3 separate regions of the Homo sapiens genome follow, and regions 1 and 2 are each linked to region 3. The links are contacts of gene promoters, found by promoter capture Hi-C in blood cells and fetal thymus (Javierre and others, 2016). All regions are on one chromosome and are shown on one strand. The core of a region is centred on a gene start or on the middle of the fragment in contact, and the rest is flanking DNA. Distances in the headings are between cores, read along the strand shown. Region 1 has its middle 3.5 kb from the start of LIN9. Region 2 has its middle 31 kb from the start of LIN9. Region 3 holds the start of ACBD3-AS1 (ACBD3 antisense RNA 1).

Region 1 (3,846 bases), core at 892-3,391, 160 kb before region 3:
TTTTCTTTTTCCATTCATCCATCAATAAATACTTAGGTTGCGTCCAACTCTTGGCTATTGTGAAGTAATACTGCTAAGAACATGGGTGTACAAATATTTGTTTGAGTCCTTGCTTTTCATTATTTTGGGTATTTATATTCAGAGTAGAATTGCTGGATCATATAGCATAGTACTTTTATGTATAAATCTTTGAAGAACCACCATATTGTTTTCCATAGCAGCTGCACCATTTTACATTCCCAATAGCAGTACACAGTGTTCTGATTTCTTCACATCCTTGCCAACACTTGTTATTATCTGTCTTTTTTATCATAGCTATCCCAGTGGGTGTGAATTGGTATCTCATTGTGGTTTTGATTTGTAGCTCCCCAATGATAATGATCTTGAACAGTCTTTTGTGTGCTTATTGACTTATCTACTGTGGAGAAATGTCTATTCAGATCCTTCACACATTTTTGAATTGGGTTGTCTTTTTATTACCAAGTTATAAGAGTTTTAAATGTGTTTAAATGTTTTGGATACAAGTGCTTTATCAGATATAAGATTTGCAAATATTTTCTCCCATTCTAAGGGTTGTCTTTTCACTTTCTTGATAGTGCCCTTTGAAACACACAAATTTTTAATTTTGATGAGGTCCAATTTATACTTTCTTTGGTTGATTGTGCTTTTGTGTCATAGCTGAGAAACTGTTGCTTAATCTAAGGTCATGAAGATTTACACCTATGTTTTCTTTTAGGAATTTTTATGGTTTAGCTTTTACATTTAGGTCTTTGGTTCATTATGAGTTTCACATTTGTATTGTATATGATTTTTTAAAAAGCTTTGTTATAGTTTTCATTAGAGTAGTGTAACATACTAAACTCCACTAAACTTGGATGTTATACATAATATCTAGCACATGTAGAGAATTTTATCTTTTATTATCTCAATTTTATGGACATGCATCCTCACATTGTGATCTAGGTAGGGCAGTGTAGTTATATTCACTCCCCAAATGGGAAAGACGAAGGCAGAAAGGTTCAATGACTTGTCCGAGATCATGGTGCTCACTAGAGGTAAAGCAAGGCTTAGAACCCATGTCTTCTGCTCTCACTCCTCACGCCTGTTTCCACTGCTCTGAACATGTTCAGGGAGATGATTCTGAAGGGAATTACCAGGATGGCCACTGGGCACATTTTTGAGAATATTTATGTTGTAAAAGAGGGATTCTCATCAAGGAAGGATACCAACAGTCACTGGAGATCTTGGTAGGCACTTAATTTACAATATGTAATTTAATCTTCATGATAACCCTTCAAGAAAGGGAGAAGAAAACTAAAAACTACTACTGAGAGTAATTTGTTCAAGAATACACACAAGGGAAGTAGGTGAACTGCAATTTGAACCTAGATCCTGGGGCCATCAGTACTCCTGGTGTACTTGGATGCTGGAAGAGGAAATGCTGAGTGTGGAGTCCTACCAGCAACATAACTTAAAAATATATATATTTATAGGCTGGAGAGCCTTTTTACCTCATTATGGCTGAGATACTCAAGCAAGGCAAACTGAATTGTCTTTGTTTTTTCATTACTAACTCAAATTCCCAACTTTATCAAAAGTATTTATAAAAACATTCACACACATACTATACACACACACGCTTTTTTTTTTTTTTTTTTTTTTTTTGAGACGGAGTCTCACCCTGTCACCCAGGCTGGAGTGCAGTGGTGTGATCTCAGCTCACTGCAGTCTTCACCTCCTAGGTTCAAGCAATTCTCCTGCCTCAGCCTTCCAAGTAGCTTGAATTACAGGCACAAGCCACCACGCCTGGCTAGTTTTGTATTTTTAGTAGAGACTGGGTTTCACCATGTTGGTCAGGCTGGTCTCAAACCCCTGATCTCAGGTGCTCAGGCGATCCACCTGCCTCAGCCTCCCAAAGTGCTGGGATTACAGGTGTGAGCCACTGCACCAGGCCCCCAACACACACATTTTATCTTTAGTCATTGCAACTGTTTTCACAAAAATAATCCAACCCAATAATTGATAAATAGGCCACAGGACTAGAAATGGTCAAACCTGGTATTTCTAAAACGTGGCCATGTTTATTTTTCTTATGGTATTTTTAAAATTTTTTAGAATTTTTGTGGGTACATAGTAGGTGGATATATTTATGATGGTACATGAGATGTTTCTTATGGTGTATTTTTATTTAGGTTTTTCATGACTTAATGACCTTATCCACACCGTGGTTTGTTTTTTTTAAAAAGCAAACACCACACACAGTCATGTCATTTTAAATTGGAATAAGTGATTGCAGGAAACTTAATACCCCTGTGTTGCATGTTGCTATGGTTTGAATGATGGTATTCCCTCCAAAATTCAGTTGTAACATAATCCCCAATGCAACAGTATTAAGTGGTGTGGCCTCTGGGAGGTGATTAAGTCATGAGGGTTCTGCTCTCGTGAATGGGGTTAGCACCCTTATGAAAGGGCTCAAGACTGAAGGAGGTGTTCTCTTGCCTTTCTGTCCCTTCTACCATGTGAGGACACAGCATGCATCCCCTCCAGAGGATGGAGCAACGAGCCACCATCTTGGAAACAGAGAGCTGCCCTCACCAGACACCAACATTGGCACCTTGATCTTGGACTTCCCAGCGTTTGAAACTGTGAGAAATAAATTCTTGTTGTCGGCTGGGCACGGTGGCTCATGCCTGTAATCCCAGCACTTTGGGAGGCTGAGGCAGGTAGATCACTTGAGATCAGGAGTTCAAGACCAGCCTGGCCAAACTGGTGAAACCCTGTCTCTACTAAGAACACAAAAATTAGCCAGGAGTGGTGGCAGGCACCTGTAATCCCAGCTACTCTGGAGGCAGAGGCAGGAGAATCGCTTGAACCCAGGAGGCAGAGGTTGCAGTGAGCCGAGATCACACCATTGTACTCCAGCGTGGGTGACAAGAGCAAAACTCCATCTCAAAAAAAAAAAAAAAAATTCTTGTTGTCTATAAATTACCCAGTCTCAGATGTTTTGTTATAGCAGCACAAATGGACAAAGACATACGTGTAATCCTCCCATCACAGAGGGAGTCACTGAGGCACCGAAAAGTGGGCTAGATTCCTGATTCTAGCACTTGCTTGCCATTGTCTTTGGACAAATTACCAGGTTGTTGGGAGAATCAAGTAAGCCAATCATTGTAAAACCTGTCATAAATATTCAATAACGAAACTTATTGAAGAGTTAGGTGTGCCTTGGCTTCGATCACACAGCTAAGCGCTAGATCTGGGGCTAGGATACAGCTTCAGGCTTTGGATTTATGAGAAGAGTCAAAGTTTTTGTTTAAAATGCAGATTATCAGGCAAGGGCCTAAAAACATTGATTTAAACAGTAGTTGTGTTGTTGCGTGTACATGAAAACTGCCTCAGAATAAAACCAGGTTTGCCTTGGTCTAATGACACCTTGACTATCATGACATTCACAAAGCTTTTGCTTCTCCCACTCTGGTAACCTCTCATGTTTTTTTAATTTCTATTCTTCCATTCTTAAAGGGCTGACCTTTTCTTGATCTCATCTCCAAATTGATACTGAAGTGCAAGCTGCTGAAGCACCCCCTAGGTGCTGACAACAAGGACCAGTGTTTTAATCTTCTTAGGGAGCAGATCAGAGTGTGTTTAGAAGGCAAAGGAGAGGTTAAGCTAGCTCTGAAGGAAGGATTACTTTGTAAAATTGAACTTTCACCCTCCCTGCTCACTCCCTGCTCTCCCTCCTACCTTAGCATGGCAGCACCCAGTTACCCAAGGCACAGAGCTGGCATCAGCAATGAGACTTCCTTCTCCTCACACCCAGTGACTCACCCAATCCTTTATTTTCCA
Region 2 (3,903 bases), core at 222-2,721, 190 kb before region 3:
GGCTTTGCAGGGTATAGCCCCCCTCCTGGCTGCTTTCATGTGCTGTTGACCATCTGCGGCTTGTCCAAGCACATGGTGCAAGCTGTAGATACACCATTCTGGGGTCTAAAGAATGGTGGCCCTCTTCTAACAGCTCCACTAGGTAGTGCCCCAGTAGGGACTCTGTGTGGGGGCTCCGACCCCACATTTCCCTTTCACACTGCCCTAGCAGAGGTTCTCCATGAGCACCCTGCCCCTGCAGCAAACTTCTGCCTGGACATCCAGGTGTTTCCATACATCCTCTGAAATCTAGGTGGAGGTTCCCAAACCTCAGTTCTTGACTTATATGCACCCACTGGCTCAACACCACATGGAAACTGCCAAGGCTTGGGGCTTCCACCCTCTGAAGCAACAGCCCAAGCTGTACCTTGGCCCCTTTTAGCCATGGCTAGAGTGGCTGGAATGCAGGGCACCAAGTCCCTAGGCTGCACACAGCATGGGGACCTTGGGCCCAACCCACGAAACCATTTTTTCCTCATAGGTCTCTGGGCCTGTGATGGGAGGGGCTGCTGTGAAGACCTCTGACATGCCCTGGGGCCATTTTCCCCATTGTCTTGCAGGTTAACATTCGGCCCCCCATTACTTTTGCAAATTTTTATAGCCAACTTGAATTTCTCCTCAGAAAATGGGATTTTCTTTTCTATCACATTGTCAGGCTGCAAATTTTCTGAACTTTTATGCTCTGCTTCCCTTATAAAACTGAATGCCTTTAACAGCACCCAAGTCACCTCTTGAATGTTTTGCTGCTTAGAAATTTTTTCCACCAGCTACCCTAAATCATCTCTCTCAAGTTCAAACTTCCACAAATCTCTAGGGCAGGGGCAAAATGCTGCCAGCCTCTTTGCTAAAACATAACAAGAGTCACCTTTGTTCCAGTCCCCAGCAAGTTCTTCATCTTTATCTGAGACCACCTCAGCCTAGATTTCATTGTCCATATCATTATCGGTATTTTGGTCAAAGTCATTCAACAAGTCTAAACTAAAGGGAGTTCTAAACTTTCCTACATTTTCCTGTCTTCTGAGCTCTCCAGCTGTTCCAACCTCTGCCTGTTGCCCATTTCCAAAGTCACTTCCACATTTTCAGATATCTTTCCAGCAGCACCCCCACTCTACAGGTACCAATTTACTGTATTAGTCCATGTTCATGCTGCTGATAAAGACATACTCAAGACTGGACAATTTACAAAAGAAAGAGGTTTAATTGGACTTACAGTTCTATGTGTCTGGGGAAGCCTCACAATCATGGTGGAAGGCAAGGAGGAGCAAGTCACGTCTTACATGGATGGCAGTAAGCAAAGAGAGAGCTTGTGCAGAGAAACTCCCATTTTTTAAACCATCAGATCTTGTGAGACTTATTCACTATTACGAGAACAGCACAGGAAAGACCTGCCCCGATGATTCAATTACCTCCCACCAAGTTCCTCCCACAACATGTGGGAATTCAAGATGAGATTTGGGTAGGGACACAGCCAAACCAAATCACCAATGAAAATGGATGATGAGGGCATGGACACTCAGGCATCAGTGGTTTTTAAAGCTACCCAGGTGATTCCACATACCCCCGGCACTTGGTTGCTAACTTGACCCCTCTGGTCTAAATCAATCATGGTTGTCCCATCGCCCTTACTAGTGCATTAGTTAAAAAAGTGCATGTGGCCAGGTGTGGTGGCTCATCATGCCTGTAATCCCAGCAGTTTGGAAGGCTGTGGCAGGAGAATTACTTGAGCCCAGGCATTCAAAACCAGCCTGAGCAATCTAGTGAGACCTTGTCTCTACAAAAAAAATAAATAAATAAAATATTAGCCAAGCATGGTGGCATGTGCCTGTGACCCCAGCTACTTGGGAGGCTGAGATGGGAGGATTGCTTGAGCCCAGGAGGTCTAGGCTCCAGTGAGCTGAGATGGTACAATAAGGGCATGCTGATGTCGGGATTCCTAGGTGTGTCATTACCATCAGTGCCGTGAGAAGAGCTTTCCCGAGGACAAGCTGATGTGCTGGGGGAAGGGAGAGTAAGGAGAGAGTACACCTAGGTCCCTGGTAGCCTTCCCAAACTGCACATCCACCAACCTGAAGACGTCCTCCTCCAGGATTCTCATTACCTGAAACCAAATCCATTCAAGTGAGGGGATTCTGTTATTTACAACACAAGGTATAACTGATACAGTGAAGAATTCTCAATACATAAAGGACTTTAGAAAGATTTCCCAGCTGGGTGCAGTGATTCATGCCTGTATGATTGCATGAACCCAGAAGTTCAAGACCAGCCTAGGCAACATGGCAAGACCCCATCTCTACAAAAAATTAAAAATTAGCCAGGCATAGTTTCATGCACCTGTGATCCCAGCACTTAGGGAGGCTGAGGCAGTGGATCACTTGAGCCCAGGAGTTCAAGACCAGCCAGGGCAACATGATGAAACCCCATCTCTACAAAAAATAGTCAGTGTGGTGGCAGTTACCTGTAGTCCCAGCTACTTGGAATGCTGAAGAGGGAGGATCACTTGAGCCCAGGAGGTTGAGGCTGCAGTGAGCCATGATTGCGTCACTGCACTCCAGCCTGGGTGACAGAACAAGAACCTGTCTCAAAAAAAAAAACAAAAACAAACAAACAAACAAAAGCCAGGCGTGGTGGTGTGAGCACTCTTGGAGGCTGAGGCAGGTGGATCACTTGAGGTCAGGAGTTCAAGACCAGCCTGGCCAACATGGTGAAAGCCCGTCTCTACTAAAAATACAAAATTTAGCCAGACATGGTGGCATGCACCTGTAATCCCAGCTATTCAAGAGGCTGAGGCACAAGAATCACTTGAGCCTGGGAGGCAGAGGTTGCAGTGAGCCTAGATCATGCCACTGCACTCCAGCCTGGGTGACAGAGCAAGACTCTGTCTCAAAAAAAAAAAAAAGGGCCAAGCACGGTGGCTCACACCTGTAATCCCAGCACTTTGGGAGGCCAAGGTGGGCGGATCATGAGGTCAGGAGATCAAGACCATCCTGGCCAACATGGTGAAACCCATCTCTACTAAAAATACAAAAATTAGCTGGGCGTGGTGGGGCGTGCCTGTAATCCCAGCTACTCGGGAGGCTGAGGCAGGACAATTGCTTGAACCCGGGAGACGGAGGTTGCAGTGAGCCGAGATCACACCACTGCACTCCAGCCTGGGTGACAGAGCAAGACTCTGTCTCAGAAGAAAAAAAAAAAAATCCCTACTGGAGGGAGGCCTCAGTGAGTGTGTATGTGTGTCAGTTTTCTCCCTAAAGGAACAGGAACGGGAATGTATGAGGAGCAAACGAAGCAAAACATGAGGGGAAGGGAGGGGGAGGAGATTAGAAAAACCAAGAGCTAAATATAGAGAAAAATCCATATAGTTTGAGAGGAAATTATGCTTTAGAAGTGGAATGAGAATGATACAGGAACAAATTAAGAGGAGGTACTAAATAACTGAGAACTTAAGGACACTGATGGTTAATGGAGATGTAATATGGTTTCCTCAACACAGAGGCCCAGGGGAAGGATTAGAATTAAACAACTAAGGTAGTAGGAGAAAGAACAAGTTCCAGGACTAGGGGTGGGAGTCAGTGAATGCACAGATAGTTACTAAATACCTAGTCTGTATTTACTAAATACTAAATACACTTGCTCATGCAGGTGACACAATAAATTTAAGAACGCTTGCAACCAAAGTACAAGATTTGCTTTCAAAACAGAAAAAAAAAAAAAAAACAACAACTGGAGAGTACTTATCCTGCATGCAAGATGCATGCAATAAATATTTCTTGAATCAACTAGGGACAGAGGATTTATCTGGGCATAGGAAATGCAATGAGACTTAAAGACAACATGGTGGGTGAATTCTTAATTGTAGATCCCTGG
Region 3 (4,258 bases), core at 624-3,123:
ATACAAATTACTGTACTTACAAAGAGCTTTGTGAGGCCAGGCACGGTGGCCCCTGCCTGTAATCTCAGCACTTTGGGAGGCCAAAGCGGATGGATTGCTAGAGCTCAGGAGTTCAAGACCAGCCTGGGCAACATGATGAAACCCTGTCTCTACCAAAAATACAAAAAACTAGCTGGGTGTGATGGTGTGCACCTGTAGTCCCAGCTACTTGGGAGGCTGAGGTGGGAAAATTGCTTGAGCCCAGGAGGTAGAGGTTGCAGTGAGCTGAGATCAAGTCACTTCACTCCAGCCTGGGCCACAGAGCCAGACCCCATCTCAAAAAAAAAAAAAAAAAAAAAAAAAAAAAGATGGCTGGGCGCAGTGGCTGACACCTGTAATCCCAGCACTTTGGGAGCCTGAGGTGGGTGAATCACCTGAGGTCAGGAGTTCAAGACCAGCCTGGCCAACATGGTGAAACCCCATCTCTACTAAAAGTACAAAAATTAGCCAGGCATGGTGGCACATGCCTGTAATCCCAGCTACTTGGGAGACTGAGGCAGGAGAATCGCTTGAACCCGGGAGGTGGAGATTGCAGTGAGCTGAGATCGTGCCATTGCACTCCAGCCTGGGCGACAGAGCCAGACTCCGTCTCAAAAAAAAAAAAAAATGAAAGAGCTTTGTGAATAAGAATTCTCTGTTCAGAAGTTGGTTGAGGTAATGTATTTCTCCTGGCTTGCCTATTAGAGAGCTTCTAAAAGGTGGTTACTGCCTAGTCTGAACCCTCAGCTGATGATAGTTTTGGGGTTATATTGGTGTTGGGAAGATCACTAGTGAAAATGGCAGGGGTTCATTTCTAGAGGTAAGAACCTTAATATCCTTGATCTTAGTTCTAATATGTCCCTCAAATGAAAGATGGCATTCCCTGTACTTGTACCATTCCTAATCATAAAATGATTTGCAGCTAAAACATTTTAGCCTCACAGCAGTGAAGCTTTATCATTCCTAAGAATTGTTCATTACATGAGCGTCACTTCATCCCATTTAAAGATTTAGCTCACAAATTGTATTTGTCCATATGCCTTAGAAGCTACTGTCCTACCGTGTCTTGTATTTCATATGGTAGAAGAGTCTGAGTTTTTTGGGTTTTGGTTTGGTTTTTCTTCCTTAGGTCTTGAAAGGTAGACAGAGGAGTTTGCTTTCTCTGAAGAAGCATGGATGGTAACACATCCTCCTGTTTTAATTCTCCATTTTCTTCATTGTTTACAGGTCCTAAACCTTGGCTTAAATTCATAAAAGATGCCTTTTCATCTATCCCAGTAATCTTTAGTTTTATAGATTTAAAACAAAATTTGAGTCTTGAATCAATGGACCAGTCTATTTCTTGGATGTCAACAATAGTGTACATTTTGGATGGTTCTGTATTTCTCATTTGCATGTGAAACATGCTTAATTATAGGTATTTCTGTGGTTAAGTAAATCTGGTTTTGACCTACCTTTATAAGAGTGCCATCTGCTTTTTTAAAATAAACTTTTAATTTTAGAATAGTTTTAGATTTACAGAAAAGTTACAAAGATAGCACAAAGAGTACCCATATACCCTGCACCAAGTTCCCTCTGTTGTTAGCATCTTACATTGTACTGTGGTGCACTCATCACAGCTAATGAAACAATATTGATACATTGATTCATTAATTAACTAAAGTCCATATTTATTCAGATGTTTTTAGTTTTTACCTAATGTTCCAAGATCCTTTCCAGGATGCCACATTATAGTCAGTCATCATATCTCCTTAATCTGCTATAGACGGTGAGAATTTCTCAAACTTACCTTGTTTTAAATTCCTGATAGTGGCCATTGACAAGCATCACTCAGTGTGTTGCCAGAATTCACTCTGCCATGTTATAAACCTGAAAATCCATGCCTGTAGTCCCAGTCTCTTAAACAAACAAACAAACAAAAACAACAACCATAAACCCGAAAGTCTTGTCTTCTGTGCTGAATACTCCCTTGACCTCTTTGAGCTGGTTTGTATTAAATATGTTAAACTGTGACTTCGAAGCTGGTTCATAATTTTCTCATTCCTGTAGGTTTCTAGAGGCATTTTTTTTCCTAACCTCATAGCATTACAGTTCAAAAAACTCTTAACCGGGGCAAACCTTTCAGAGCCCATTTTTTGCCACTTAGATCATCTCTGGGTTAAATTGGCCTAGTGAAAATAATTGAATTTTCAGAGTATCTCTGAATGCCTATCTCTCTACTATGATTTTTTCATTTTACTGCTTATATTTAAGATATACAGAAAGCAATAGTCCTCACAAATCATCTTCCATCTTTCTAAAATGGGGAGGACTCATATTGGTCAGAAGGAGGATGATGAGAGCAACATTTTCATGTTACTCAGATGAGTGAAATTCCTGAGGATGAATTAGGAATTGAATGGCTATGGAAAGGGGAAAATGGGACCTTGAAATAGGAATGGTAGTAAGCACAGAAAGAGATAGGATGCTGACCACTGCTACCACTAGATGTTCATCACTGGGCTCCCAGGGCTCAGAACAGGGTTTGGTGTATAGCACATACTTAGGTATTTGAATGAATGAGTGAATGAATGAATGAATGAACGAACTAATAAATGCTCACATGCACATAACTTGTTAAATGGTTCAACAGAATTCCCAACAAGAGCAGTTTCTCAAAGAAAGGATAGGCTGGGCACGGTGGCTCACGCCTGTAATCCCAGCACTTTGGGAGGCCGAGGCAGGTGGGTCACAAGGTCAGGAGATTGAGACAATCCTGGCCAACATGGTGAAAGTCCATGTCTACTAAAAATACAAAAATTACCTGGATGTAGTGGTGCACGCCTGTAATCCCAGCTACTTGGGAAGCTGAGGCAGGAGAATCGCTTGCACCCAGGAGGTGGAGGTTGCAATGAGCTGAGATCACGCCGCTGCACTCCATCCTGGGTGACAGAGCAAGACTCTGTCTCCAGAAAAAAAAGAAAGGATAGATTTTAATTGCCTGATGCAAGTGTGGTTTTCCTGAATCTGTTCATTGACTTGTCTCTGTTCTTACAGAAAACATCGGTTGTGAAGAGAAAGCCAAAAAGAATGCCAACAAGCCTTTGCTGGATGAGATTGTGCCTGTGTACCGACGGGACTGTCATGAGGAGGTGTATGCTGGCAGCCATCAATATCCAGGGAGAGGAGTCTATCTCCTCAAGTTTGACAACTCCTACTCTTTGTGGCGGTCAAAATCAGTCTACTACAGAGTCTATTATACTAGATAAAAATGTTGTTACAAAGTCTGGAGTCTAGGGTTGGGCAGAAGATGACATTTAATTTGGAAATTTCTTTTTACTTTTGTGGAGCATTAGAGTCACAGTTTACCTTATTGATATTGGTCTGATGGTTTGTGAACTCTTGCTGGGAATCAAAATTTCCTTGAGACTCTTTAGCATTCATACTTTGGGGTTAAAGGAGATTCCTCAGACTCATCCAGCCCTTGGGTGCTGACCAGCAGAGTCACTAGTGGATGCTGAAGTTACATGAGCTACATGTTAAATATTTAAAGTCTCCAAAATAAAACACCCCAACGTTGACCTTACCCGGCTGATGGTTAGCCCCTTGCTGCCTGCTCCATGTGTCTTATGAGAGCCCGTAGTTACAGTGTCCTCTAATTTGAAATCCATAAGTTAACAAGTCTATATCAGGTGCAGCTGGCTTTGATTAAAGGCCATTTTTAAAACTTAAAAACTCAACACCTCACAGATTATAATAGAAAAAGAAATGGCCTCAGTTTGATCTCGTTCAGAATGACCCAGATTGTTTCTGCTTTGGGTGCAGCTGTTTAGTTCAGAGTTATATTACAGAGAATTATTTTCTGAGATAATCTTAAACTAGAATGTTCAAAACTAATTGATAATTGAAGTATCAAGATACGTAGAACACCTCAGAGATTTTTCTTCAGGAACTTCCACAAACTTTGAATCCTTGTATCTTTATTTGGTATTCATACTACTAGTAGCAAAATACAGGTTTTTTGTTTTGTTTTGTTTTGTTTTGGCTTCATAGAGTATCTCAAATTGAAACTTTTCTGCACAAAGAATAAAATTAAGGATTTTATAAACTCAAATTGGCACCTACTGAATTAAAATACATAAAATCATTTAAATATAATTCAGCATATGGGAAGTAACATTGCACTAATATGGAAATCACTGCCAGAGACAGTCTATTTTCTTTTAATTTGTTACTACTTAGTCACAAACCCCACATTATT

What was found. Contacts are between HindIII fragments. The CHiCAGO score rates a contact against its expected background, and 5 or more counts as called.
Region 1: a fragment that was not itself captured here is called in contact with the fragment with the promoter of ACBD3-AS1 in region 3 in 1 of 17 cell types (total B cells); the score reaches 5.7 in total B cells.
Region 2: a fragment that was not itself captured here is called in contact with the fragment with the promoter of ACBD3-AS1 in region 3 in 1 of 17 cell types (megakaryocytes); the score reaches 5.5 in megakaryocytes.

Annotation. Positions count from the first base shown.
Region 1 is chr1:226,310,766-226,314,611 of GRCh38, reverse strand. No RefSeq gene overlaps it. Among named protein-coding and RNA genes, the nearest start is that of LIN9, 3.5 kb to the right of the region's middle. The HindIII fragment of the contact is 2,637 bases long and covers 823-3,459 here.
Region 2 is chr1:226,337,745-226,341,647 of GRCh38, reverse strand. No RefSeq gene overlaps it. Among named protein-coding and RNA genes, the nearest start is that of LIN9, 31 kb to the right of the region's middle. The HindIII fragment of the contact is 5,339 bases long and covers 1-3,903 here.
Region 3 is chr1:226,145,618-226,149,875 of GRCh38, reverse strand. ACBD3-AS1 (ACBD3 antisense RNA 1) reads right to left here and starts at 1,873. Exons shown (of 2, transcript NR_146443.1): 1 at 1,808-1,873. It overlaps ACBD3 (acyl-CoA binding domain containing 3), which reads left to right. Exons shown (of 8, transcript NM_022735.4): 8 at 3,055-4,258. The coding sequence ends at 3,266. It also overlaps the pseudogene LOC124904586. The HindIII fragment of the contact is 12,330 bases long and covers 973-4,258 here.